Regions from separate parts of the Homo sapiens genome. Here region 2 is linked to region 1. The links are contacts of gene promoters, found by promoter capture Hi-C in blood cells and fetal thymus (Javierre and others, 2016). All regions are on one chromosome and are shown on one strand. The core of a region is centred on a gene start or on the middle of the fragment in contact, and the rest is flanking DNA. Distances in the headings are between cores, read along the strand shown. Region 1 holds the start of MTFR2 (mitochondrial fission regulator 2). Region 2 holds the start of TBPL1 (TATA-box binding protein like 1).

What was found. Contacts are between HindIII fragments. The CHiCAGO score rates a contact against its expected background, and 5 or more counts as called.
Region 2: the fragment with the promoter of TBPL1 here is called in contact with the fragment with the promoter of MTFR2 in region 1 in 3 of 17 cell types (non-activated CD4 T cells, activated CD4 T cells and fetal thymus); the score reaches 10.2 in non-activated CD4 T cells.

The regions. Positions count from the first base shown.
Region 1 is chr6:136,246,660-136,252,708 of GRCh38, reverse strand. It overlaps MTFR2 (mitochondrial fission regulator 2), which reads left to right and starts at 2,398. Exons shown (of 8, transcript NM_001099286.3): 1 at 2,398-2,733; 2 at 3,556-3,672. The coding sequence starts at 3,610. RefSeq lists enhancers at 1,929-2,078, 2,729-2,948. The HindIII fragment of the contact is 2,013 bases long and covers 765-2,777 here.
Region 2 is chr6:133,950,856-133,957,132 of GRCh38, reverse strand. TBPL1 (TATA-box binding protein like 1) reads right to left here and starts at 3,909. Exons shown (of 7, transcript NM_004865.4): 1 at 3,708-3,909. LOC128092253 (umcharacterized LOC128092253) reads right to left here and starts at 3,829. Exons shown (of 2, transcript NM_001414965.1): 1 at 3,708-3,829. The coding sequence starts at 3,829. RefSeq lists a silencer at 4,802-4,911. The HindIII fragment of the contact is 10,274 bases long and covers 2,208-6,277 here.

The DNA.
Region 1 (6,049 bases), core at 1,149-3,648:
ACTTTGCCTTATGCTACTCCTTGTTCACTTACCTATCTTAAGTCTTACACCCTAGCAAAAAATTTCCAATTCCTCTTTTTGCTCAGGGGCCACTGAATGCAGCACATACCTTTAGGCTAGTAATTCATTCCATTTACATGTCTCCACCAGAATAAAATTTTAGCATTTAGTATTGTGCATGGCATACATACTGTAGTTATGTAATAAATGGTCCTTGAGTGTGTATAAATGAAAGAATGATAATTGCGTATTTATAAAGGCTTGATTTAATTTTATGTCTGCTGCTGCTGCTTGAAACAAATACAATCTGGGCTGTCTTAAAAATTGCTGGGATTACAGGCGTGAGCCACCGCTCCCAGCCAAGATAGGTTCTTGATTGCTGTGTTCAAATCCTTAAAAGGCTTTGCTAGAGAAGAGACATGTTCAAATCACATAGGATCAGGAGACTGGTATTTGATACTTGTCCGATCTCCTCATTTTAACATGTTACATATTTAAAGGACAGAAATCAGAGTCAGTAGGTAAAAAATCTTAGGGACATAGACTTACTAGCTCAATATAGTGAGCTAATTCAATATAATGAGCTAATACTTGACAACTAGATACTTTAAAAAGTGTTAACATGCAGCTTGTGAATAGCAAGTTTTCTACCTGGATCAAACTGGGGGAGGGGAACACAGGAAAACTCCAGAAAGCAAGCCACTATATTTTTGAACACTACTCAGAGACAACAGAAAAGCTAGCTTTGTGATGTCAGAAAAGCTTTCTTGGACCCTATCTCATTCTAAGAGTTCAGGAAAATCTAATTTCGTGTAAAAATGAGCAATGGAAAAAGATGTCCAATCACATAAAATGTTTTTGTCAAAATGGAATTATGAATGCTTTAGTAAACTGGAAGAAATATCTCTGAAGAATTTAGAAGAAAGTTGTCAGCAAAGCATTTATGGATGTAGTATTTGACCTGGGTCCTCCTTGCTACTTAAATCAGTTGGAATATTAACCTATGTTAATAGTGCAGCTGGAAGAGTAGTGGTTCCGTTCTCATTCTGGAGGGATGTTTTCATTCTGGCCCTGTCTGTTTGCTGTTTGATAAGAGAGTGGGAAAGGGAGGGGGTTATAAAGTCGTGATTTATTCACAAGGGCAAAGGGAAGGACAAGGAACTTGAGAAAATTACTCCATCTAGGGTTTCTGATCCATCATCATCCTTGTTCTGCGCTCACTCAGCCGTATCCAGCTCTACTGGGCATATCACTATTATTGCTATCAATTGTTTTGCTAGTTGCTTAGTCCCAAATCATTATCATCTTTTCTGTCATTCCACATTTAGGTATTTTATTCAACAAATAGACTGAATGCCTATTATATACCAGACACTCTTCTAAAGCACTGGGGAAAGATAGAGCATGGATCAAAACAACTTCCTGTTCTCCTGGAGTCTACAATTTTGTTTGGTGGTAGTGGAAGCGTAACTAAATATATATGATAAGTGCTATAGAGAAAAGCAAATTAGGGTTAGAATGGAACGAGATGCCCCGCTGGCCTGTAAGCTCCAGGAGGACGAGGACCTGCCCTCTCATTAAGGTATTTTCCGTGCTTAGAATGGTGTCTGCTACGTAGTAGATATCTATTATTGGTTGAATGAATAAGTGATGTTGACCATAGATAAATTAGTTCAAAACTTAGATTTTCAAATTATGTCAGTAGCAGGCACACATCTTAAATTGTTATATCACTCCAGTGCACGTCTTGCTGAAATTCAGAAGAGGAAGCTATTTCGTATGAAGCCAATAACCTCAAATCAGAAATGAAAACTGGGATATCACCTGTCATATCACTTGCCATCCTCGGCTAAGCCAGGAGAGTGTCCGGCCCAATATTCGGTAGCCTGGATACGTAGGTGTATTTAGTGAACGAAAGAATGAATCCTAGCCACTGCAAAGCTGCAAAACCCTCGGGGGTAGTGCTTGGCTTCTGCCAGTTCCACAAGTATTTTAATATTAGCTGAACAAATGAAATGACCAAAAAATAAATCGCGATTTTGTGTCAGATGAACTTGGGAAGGCGGATGCGCTTAGGGTCCGGCTGTAGCGAGTAAGACACTCCCTGCGAAGAGTTCTGTGGGGTACGAACTCCGGACTGCGAGTCCAGCTCACGAGTTTGTACCTAAAACCTTGCCCTGCGGGAGCGACGCTGTCCTAACGCGACCTGCCCTGCCCGTCAGCTCCTATTGGCTGACTCTCGGAAGACCCGCCTCTTGAGAAGGAAAAGCAGTCGCTTCCCGAATTGCCTGACATCATGCAATGACCAATCAGAAGCAGCGATCTTCAGTTTTGCCCAATGAGGCTGGTTACGGGTCCTGGCCCGCGGAGTTTGATTTCGTCCTGGGATGCGGAAGTAGCAGTCCTGTCATGCGGAAGTAGCAGTCCGGTCCTAGGGACTAGCAGGTGGGTTGGTTGGGCGCAGGAGGACGGGGGCGCGCTTCCCATAACATTACCCTGGCTGAGCGTGAGGCTCCAGGGCTGGGCACCGGGTTGACCTCTTATTCCTCGCTGAGGGCATCGTTACCGCCTGTGGCTGCAAGCCGAGGCGCGCGGGTGGAAACTGGGTCGAGGTCTGGGTAGACGTCTGAGCGATCTGCACAAGGAGTGGCGCAGTCTGGAATTTGATTGAGGATTCCTAACGCCCTCCGCTTGATGTTCTGGTGATTCCCGGGGGCTCGGCTTCGGAGGAAGGTGAGCAAGGCTACCACGCTGTGTTTGGAGAGCACCAGGAAGCTTGTGACCAAAGCGAGGGACGCGATCCGGCTCTGGTCACGGCCTGTTACTAGATGGGTGACCAAGTCACGTCCCGTATCTGGAATTCATGCTTCTCATTTTAAAAGAGTGAGGAGGGATGGGCATTCCACATGGCTGGGGAGGCCTCACAATCATTGCTGAAGGCAAATGAGTAGCAAAGTCACATTTTACATGGTGGCAGGCAAGAGGGCTTGTGCAGGGGAACTCCTGTTGATAAAACCATCACATCTCATGAGACTTATTCACTACCACGAGCATAGTATGGGGGAAGCTGCCCCCATGATTCAGTTATCTTCACCTGGCCCCACCCTTGACACGTGAGGATATGTGTGTGAGAAGAGCTACTGTTTATTTTTTTAAAAACTGAGTCGTCCCTTGCCTGCTTTCAAGGGTTGGCTAAACTCACCCATCTGCTAAGAGTCTCAGCCCAAAGCTTTCAGGAAAGAGCGAGCTTCGCTGTGGCATGTAACTTGAAGCCTTGCCTACTAAGTAGATGTCCAGTTTGTTGATTGGTCTCTATTAACTAGGCTCAAACATCCTACGAGGTTTTAATGTAATCTAACCAATTAATTGAAATTTCCTTTACAACCCTCTCTTTCCCCCAGACTTCCCCTTCCTTTCTTTTTCTCTGACTTAAAAGAATGCTGGCTAGGAGAAATTAGTTGACTGTGTCGTGTATCAAGAGGACTTTTCCAGGTTATGTAGTACAATTTGGCATTTATTTGTCAAGAGTAACATTTTCTAAAATTTTCCCCAAAGGCACCAAGAAACTGATAATGTTCCTTTGAATTGGCTTCTGTATTTGCTTCATCAATGTCTCTCATACTGAATATCTTAAGAGAGATGCTGGAATATTTTGGCGTTCCTGTAGAACAGGTAAATGTCGTTTTGGATTGGAATGGATCTGTTGTATTTGTTCTTGGGTTTCATTTTGAAAATGACTTATATGTAATCATTTGATTTAAGGCAAAGTTGTTGCTTCTTTTTAGTTGGAACAAAGGTGAGTTTGTAATAGTATAGCTTTGATGATTTGAGTTAGAAGAGGGATAAGATTATTGAGAACATATTTACCTGATAGGACAAATGCCAACAGAAGATACAAAGGAAGCAAAATATAGACATGAGCTTCACAGAATTACATTTATTGCACAGATACATTAAAACTTCTATTCAAGGTAATTTATAAACAAGTTCAATATTTAAAGCTCAATAAATCCAGAATAAATCTAATGGAAAGAGGATGATTTAGGCCTGAGAATTATAAGCTGTATTAGTCTGTTCTCATGCTGCTAATAAAGACATACCGGAGACTGGGTAATTTATAAAGGAAAGAGGTTTAATTGACTCACAGTTCCACATGGCTGGGGAGGCCTCACAATCATTGCTGAAGGCAAATGAGTAGCAAAGTCACATTTTACATGGTGGCAGGCAAGAGAGCTTGTGCAGGGGAACTCCTGTTTATAAAACCATCACATCTCATGAGACTTATTCACTACCACGAGCATAGTATGGGAGAAGCTGCCCCCATGATTCAGTTATCTTCACCTGGCCCCACCCTTGACACGTGAGGATAATTACAATTCAAGGTGAGATTTGGGTGGGGACACAGCCAAACCATATCATAAGCAAATCAAATTTTATCTACTTGTTGAAAATCTGCTGTATCTAAGACAATATGCTTGTTTCTGCAGGTAATACAGAGGAGTAATACATGGTTGTATTCATAATGCTTAAAATATGAGGAATAAGAAACAATAAAGATAACTGTAATATGAGATTGTAAGGAAGACGGGTGGGGTGAATTAGAAGAAAGTAGTCAAGGATAATTTAAGATTTTTTTAAAGCAAAAGTAAGTTGAAGAATCATAGTACCATTATTATAAATGGGCATCTTAGTATGAGAAACTAGTTTGAATATGGAGATGAGGTGAGTCAGAGGTGATGTTAGAACATATAAGTAGAAATATCCTTCAGACAATTGGATATATATATGGTTTTAGTATGTAGGAAAGAAAAAGATTCAGTTTTGGGAGTTATCTGCTTTGTTTTGATATTTAAAGCCATGGACTTCGATAATGGCAAATGTCATTAGATGTGATTGAAACATTCTAAATATCAGTAATCGAGAGACTGAAGATAACAGCTGAACATTTGTTTATCACTATTAGGTTATTGGTGACCTTAAGAATTTCTGTAAGTGGAGAATGGGACTGTGTTGGAGTAGTTTGAAGAATATCAGGAAGGGAGGTGGGATCAGCAACCTTCTTTTGAAAAGTTTGCTTGTGAAAAGAAATTGAGAGAGGCCATCAGCCTGAAGGGGCCGCAGGATGGAATTTTTCTTTTTCTTTTAAAGTTAGAAGTAACTTCAGCATATTTGTCATCACTCTGGAAGAAACAGACAGGAAGAAATTTAAGATCCACATGAGAGAGGATTGAGCACCGCCTTTGAGAAGGTAGTTGGGCAAGGGATCTAATTAAATAAGTCTTGGAAAGGAGAGAGACTGTCCTGCCTTAAAGAACAGAATGAAAGTGAGAGAGAGTGAAAAGAGATTTTTTTTTTTTTTAAGATGGAGTCTTGCTCTGTTGCCCAGGCTGGAGTGCAGTGGTGCAATCTTGGCTCACTGCAACCTCTGCTCCGAGGTTCAAGTGATTCTCCTGCCCCAGCCTCCCGCGTAGCTGGGATTACAGGAGCCTGCCACCAATGCCCAACTGATTTTTATATTTTTAGTAGAGATGGGGTTTTACCACGTTGGCCAGGCTGGTCTTGAATTCCTAACCTCAAGTGATCCACCTGCCTTGGCCTTCCGAAGTGCTGGGATTACAGGCGTGAGCCCCTGCGCCTGGCCTGAAAAGAGATTTTGAATGGAGCTAAGTAAGAGAAGTGAAGTTGAGGTATGTCAAGTTGAAGTTCTCGGTTTTCTCAGTAAGAGCAGAGACAAGGTCACTTGCAGGTAATGAAGTGGTGGGATTTGAGAAGGGATTTCAGAGATTGGAGACTGCTCTGGGCAATGTGGTATAGAATGTAACATGTTATGAAGGGATTTCAGAATACCTGTGAGAACCCAGCTGAAGTCATCATGGAATTGTAGTTTTTCTAAATATTGTCGTTTTGTGATTTTTTTTTCCTAGCTAAGAGTAATTACAGTAGTGTATTCATTAGCAGTGTGGGAGCACATAATATCAAAAGAATGAACCATTTTTGAGTGGCATTGAACATATTACTGAAATAATTAACCAGAAAATCCATGCTTGGT
Region 2 (6,277 bases), core at 2,660-5,159, 2.3 Mb after region 1:
ACAAAACCAGCCATTTAAACCAAATTCTCTATTTTATCACCCTTTAGTCACAGACAAGTAGAATTTCTGATGTGACCTGATTCCTTTCCACTAAAGACATACTTCCAGAATCTTGCTTTTTCACAACTACACAAATACACAAACTCCATCTGTCTTCTAAAGAAAAGATTGACTGGTTAATAATACAAAAATCAAATTTGTCTATGTAGCCTGGAAAAACCTCAGATACGTATACAGTCTCTCATCCTTTTGAAATTTCCCAAAGTGGTAGTCATGTGACAAGAGCAAATATCGTGTCTACTCAAGTGAAGGCAGTCCACCATTATCTTTATTGTTTGAATTGGTTAGAAGCTGTAATCATGCTTGAGAAAGTGTCACTGCTTGTAATTTGCATGCCCACAGCCAGAATACAAAGTTGAAATTTTAGGCATCAAGAATCAGATTTCAAAAAGGTTTCCTTCATCCACTAGCTAAGCTCTTGAAGTGAAATAAACAAACATGTATCTCCTTCTATTAACAACGTAATCTTCAAAATACACACACAGGGCAGGGACATACAATATGATGATGGCTACTCATACTCCTGATCCTCAAGAAACTTCTAGTTTAGCAGGCATGATGAAGTCCATTCACCAATAGTGACAGTACCAGGCAGTATGTAATAAAGAATTTAAAATTCATATTTGTGTCTGTCATGTTTTATTACACACATGTCATTTCTCTGCTACCTACAAGTGCACAAAAAGCACCTGAAGGGAAATACCTCTCTCATCCAGCTTTGCACACCTGACACGGCACCAGACATACAGAAGGCACAACAAAATGGATTTAAGTTTCAGGGAATCTTTATTAGTTCGAATGTCACAATACAGCTAAAATTTGAAAACACCAGAGATTTTAACTCAGAGACAATGTGGAAACATTCTACTATAAATTCTTCTAAAAATCAACTGCAACGTTCATATTTTATAGCAATAATTTCATCACATGGTCTATGATGAAACAGAAGGAAATCAATCACCTAGGTTATTACTGGTATCCTTCATCTAAAAACAGTCCTCATGTTCACTCAACTAGATTATACAGTATTTTCTGATTTTTTTAAATAATGTGCCATGTCCATGAGAAGAAATAACTCTCTCCAAAAACATTCAGCTATATGTTTCATAAATATTTGTTCTACTTCATAGCAAATTCTGCATTTTATATGTGTTCATCCACACAAATGCTGATGTGACAATTTTCTATGTTAAGAATAACTTGGGGAAATTACTATAAGTAGTTCCCTCAAATTTGGCAGAATATAATTTCAGTCAAGATTGATTTTAAGAATAATTTTTTTAGAATAAGAATCATGAAAATCTAAGGTTCAATTTAAAACACAGAACAGGCTCTACAATACTTTTTTAAAAAGTGACCGTCTACAATTACAGTATTACCATTTGGACTTCTAACGTCTTTCATTCTGCTAAGTTCAAAAATTTTAATATACCTTATTTTAATAGAAGCTCTTGAGTTTCAGCAGAGGCTCTTAACCTGTTGTATTCACAACCAACAGTTACTCAGAATGAATACAGAACATCTAACATGACCACTCCAATTTTCCAAATAAAGAGGAGGGTACAGAAGGAAAATGCAACAGATAAAATCACATTAATGAAATGCACATGCAGGCGAAGGACACATGTTGAAAATGCTGTAAGAAACGGAAATGATACAGCATAAAAAATCATTTTTGATTGGGACATGATTAAGAAAAGACAGTAACTAAACTACCACCAAAGTTGGGAGTATTGGGGCGGAGGAGAGCAGGGAAAGCAGACACTGCATTGTTAATAAAGGTGGAAGCTAGGGCTTGACCCTCACTCAAACAATGAAGAGACAGACAACGGCAAACTAGATCTGGGTCAAGTGAGTCTGATGGCAGCCCTGAGGTTGAGGGACACTTCGTCAAGTCTCATATGCACAAAGATAACCCCAGGACTCAACATCCACAGCCTCAAGTATGGCTATCCCAGTATATCCTTCACAGAACTGCTACAAAGATTAAGCAACAGTCTTTGATTCATTAATCTATCTTTTTCTTCTTAATGTCTTAAAATGCAACTTAAGTTTCCCAATGTTCACACTTTGCATCCTGTCCACTTCTTTACACATGAATGAAATTCCTTTAACAGACACTGGACCTCAATTCCATATTAAAAGCTTAAGATGAAAACGCCTGAGTTGAAGCTATATTCTGGCTAGCCCTCATTCAGGAACAAGCCAGCCCAATCAAGGGCACATAGTAATAGGTCACTAGAGTTTCTGATACTGATTTTGAGGGCAGAGGGTACGTAAAGAGGAGGCTGGGGAAAGGATGACACCTTTTTGCTTAGGAGAAGTCAGGTTTAACAAAAGGGGTGGGGAACAAACAGAAGCTGTGGTTGACCTAATTGCTCCTATGATTTATCAATTTTATTTTCATCTTTAATCTTCAACTTTACATAAAGAACTTTGTATGTATATGTGGCCTTTTCATTGTGCTACAGGAAAACCTCATTTACTCACCCAAAATGATTTTGTAAAGTATAAAACCATTAAGCAGCTTGTGATGTAAGACTAAAGAGGTAACATAAACTGATATTTCACTGGGCATACCAAACTGTGAATAATCCTTTCAACCAGATAGTGCTAACAGTCACTTCTCAATAGGAAGGAACTGCCATTTTCTCAAAGAGACTGCGAAATTATGCCAGGATGGCTGAACCTTCTTATGTCTCTTTTTATATTTTCCCAGAGAATCCACATTGCTTACACACACACACGCAAACCTGCTCCCTTTTCTTAAGTCACAGTTTTAAGGCACTGTTCTAAACCCTAAATACAGAAGCTCATGCACTTACTGCCAGTGTCGCTTTGGAACTGCAGGTGACAGATGCAGTCAGAGAGCTCACAGATGTGGATTGACTGCAGTTTGAGTCTTATTGCAATGAGCACATTGACAGAGCCTGCAGATGCACATCTCGGCAGGAGAGATTTTCTTTTTAAGCCCTCATGCCCTATTAGATTTACTTTTAGGGCTTTTATTGGCTATTTTTATCACTTATCCCGACTCTCATCCCTGCTTAGCCCTACCCACAATTCATTTTCTCTTCTTCAGTTCTAGATCCTTCTCCATCAATCCTAATTTTGGTCAAAAATAATAATAAAATAAAGCGAGGCTGCCGGCATTGCCAGAATCAGAAACCGACGAAGCCGCTTTTTGGGAGCTATTAGAGAAGCCGCTGTAAGTTTTCTGAGAAGCAACGGACCCCTAGCATCTTTGCACGGTCCCTCTTCCCCTGGGTGATGGCTCCGAGACAGATGAGGAATCTCTTTTCCCCGTCTTTCCCAGTGGTGGCTTAAACGAAAGATAACCCTTCTTTTCTTATCCTACACCAGGCTCGGTAACGCTCCCAGGTACGGACGCCCCACCCCCAACCCGTTATCCCTAAAGAGATCCCCAAATATCGCCCGGTCCTCTTCAGAACTGAGCCCTCCCTCGGCCACCGGACCGGTTTCCCCCACCTCAGCGGCTGCCCTCCAGTCGCCCGCCCCCACACATCCCACCCCAAGTCTGGCCCGGGCTCCGCACATGCCCACCCCGCGCCCAGACGCCCCGCACCCGGTGCTCAGGCCGCTCAGCCGCCCGCGCTCCCTGTGCCCAGGGTCGCCTAGGGGGTTACCGTGGGAAGAGGGAGCGGTGGCTGAGGACGCGGCGGCAGCGCTGCTGCCGGTTGCGTCGGATGCGAAGGAGAAGCTGGAGGACAAGGATGAGGATGAGACGGGCGCGCTCCCCAGTCTCCATGGAACTCCCGCCCCGGCCCGTTGCTAGGAGCCCCCGAGGCTCGGACTCCGTCTTCCTTGCTTTGTTGTTCCGGGTGCGAGGCGGCCGCAGCTTCCCCGCGACAATAAATAGACTAGACGCTGGGGAGCATAGAGACAGTGCGCGAGGGCTAGAGCGCCGCCGGACAGGGCGCTCCTGGGTGCCTCGCTAGCCACTCATTTCCGGCTCTCACTGCTCCCGTCACTTTCCCCGTCCCCCGCCCCCACCCTTCCTTCCTCCTTCCTGGTCCCCAAATCAGGCCCCTCCTGCCCACCCGCTGGGCTCGGTGGGAGGTAAGAGGTGGGATGGGGGCGGCGCTAATGGGCATCGGACTAGACTTTTTTGTTTAAGAACCGCTTGAAAGGGTTCTGAAAACACCGTGTATCCTTTGTATATTTTTAGTTGATATCTAAACGTGTAGTAATTTCTGGCATACAGTCGAATATTTAGGTGGACTTTTTTGTCAAAACCGTAGAACTTTCTCATCAGCTCATTAAATTTATACAAAAGGTCCTCCCCACCCCCCATTATATAATTGCTAAAGCTAGTCCTTACCGTCCAGACGAGACTTGTTTTCTGCCTGAAAAAAGTCCTTCGCTTTTTCAGTCAAAATGAACCCGTTAATTTATGATGTCGCGATAAATTCCCCTAGTGAGATTCCTCACTAGGCGAATTGGAATCCTGGTCTTAGAGCGACCGGGGATGACAGATGACAGACGGAGGGAAGGAAGTGGGGAGAGATGGAGACACAAGGTGTGGCGAGACGGAGGGATAACGCAGGACCGTATGCCACTTCTGTCGCCTGTCCCACATTCCTTACTCTACGTGGGTTTGCGGTCGGGACTGTCCCTCGGGAACCGAGAGGCGGATCCAGGAAGGATGGGAGTGGGAGAGGGCGGATGCTGGCGAGGACTCAGGCAGCCCGGGATAGGAGGACCTCTAGGAACGGAGACCCTCCGCGGCTCTGCGCCCAAGTAGCCCTGCAGGGGCCGGGGGACCCCGGGGGCGCACAATGGCCCGTTTGAACCGTCGCCCTGGGGCCCGAGTGCGTCCTCGGGGTCCCTCGGGAGTGGCCTGAGAGGCGCTGCCCGCGGGAGCGAAAATCGCGTAACGGCCCTGAGGGCGCCACGCCACGCCACGCCACGCCACGCCGCGCGGAAGCCCCCGGCTCCCGGCCCCACGTTTCCCACTCTCAGGCCGGCATCGGCCTTTCCACCAGAGCTCGGCTGCAGTCAGAAGCCCCTGGCGTTAGTTGAGGTCAATGGCAGCCCTGATTTAATTATTAAAAGACCACGCCGAGCCGGGTTCATGGGTACCTGGCCTCTGATTGGTGGGAATCAGATGAAAAAAATGAAAATGCCACTGCCTTTTTAAAAGAGAAGACGTGGGCTGAATTCTTGGGGTTTTGACAGTAGGCAACCATTTAGGTATTTTATTATTTACGAGATCTCCAAGGATGCCTCTTGATTTTTTGCTTTCCCCTCTGAGTGTTCAGAAACATATTCGAGCATTTGAAAGCTCCGTAGAATGATGGAGTTTGTTTTCATTTCTGTACTAATTTATTTTTCAAGGGATAGTGATTATAGTTGGGTCAGGTTTAATAAAGAAAGTGAACAAGAAGCTGGGTTAGAAAGTAATGTCTGTGTGGTGGTGGGGAGAGGACTTTTAGGAGGTAACATCTCAGCCAATTTCTAAAAGGGATGGGAGTGGGAAGAATGTATGTAGAGTGTTCCAGTCAGAGGGAACAAGATATGCTGAGTACTTGCTGTGCTGGGGTATTAGTGTGGCTAGGGCATCAGGAAACAGTGCAAAGGAAGAATGACAGTCATTGAAATTGGAGGGAAATTAAGGTCTTGAACTTTCAGTGCCTTGTAGACCATAGAAGGAGTTTGGACTTTCTTCCAAGTGCTAGGGAAAGTGGAGTTTTAGCCTGGAAAATAACATGATTTGCCAAGGAAACGGCAGGGGAGACTCTCTATTCCAGTGGCTACTGCCACTCCTGAAAAGTCAACGTTACAGCAATGGCGACAAGTTCTAAGGTCCTTACGAGGCATTCTCCTTCAAGGGGACCAGCCAAATACCTAGAAGCAGGAATGTCAATTACTTTAGACTCCCTTTTGTCATGGATCAGCCAATAGTTTGCTTCCCTACATTAGTTCCACATTCTGGAATGGGATTTGGTTTTGCTGCAAGCACTATTCCCTATTAATTATAGACCTATTATACTATTCCGGTGATGGTTAACACTAAAAGCCCAGATTTCAACCACTATGCAACATATCAATGCATCAAAACTGTACTTGTACTTCCAAATTTATACAAAATAATAATAATAATAATAGACCTATCACATTATCCCATACACCATTCCTCTAACCAAAGGCCATGGGCTTCACTGCTCTTATAATGTGACCCATTATTCAGGTGCCA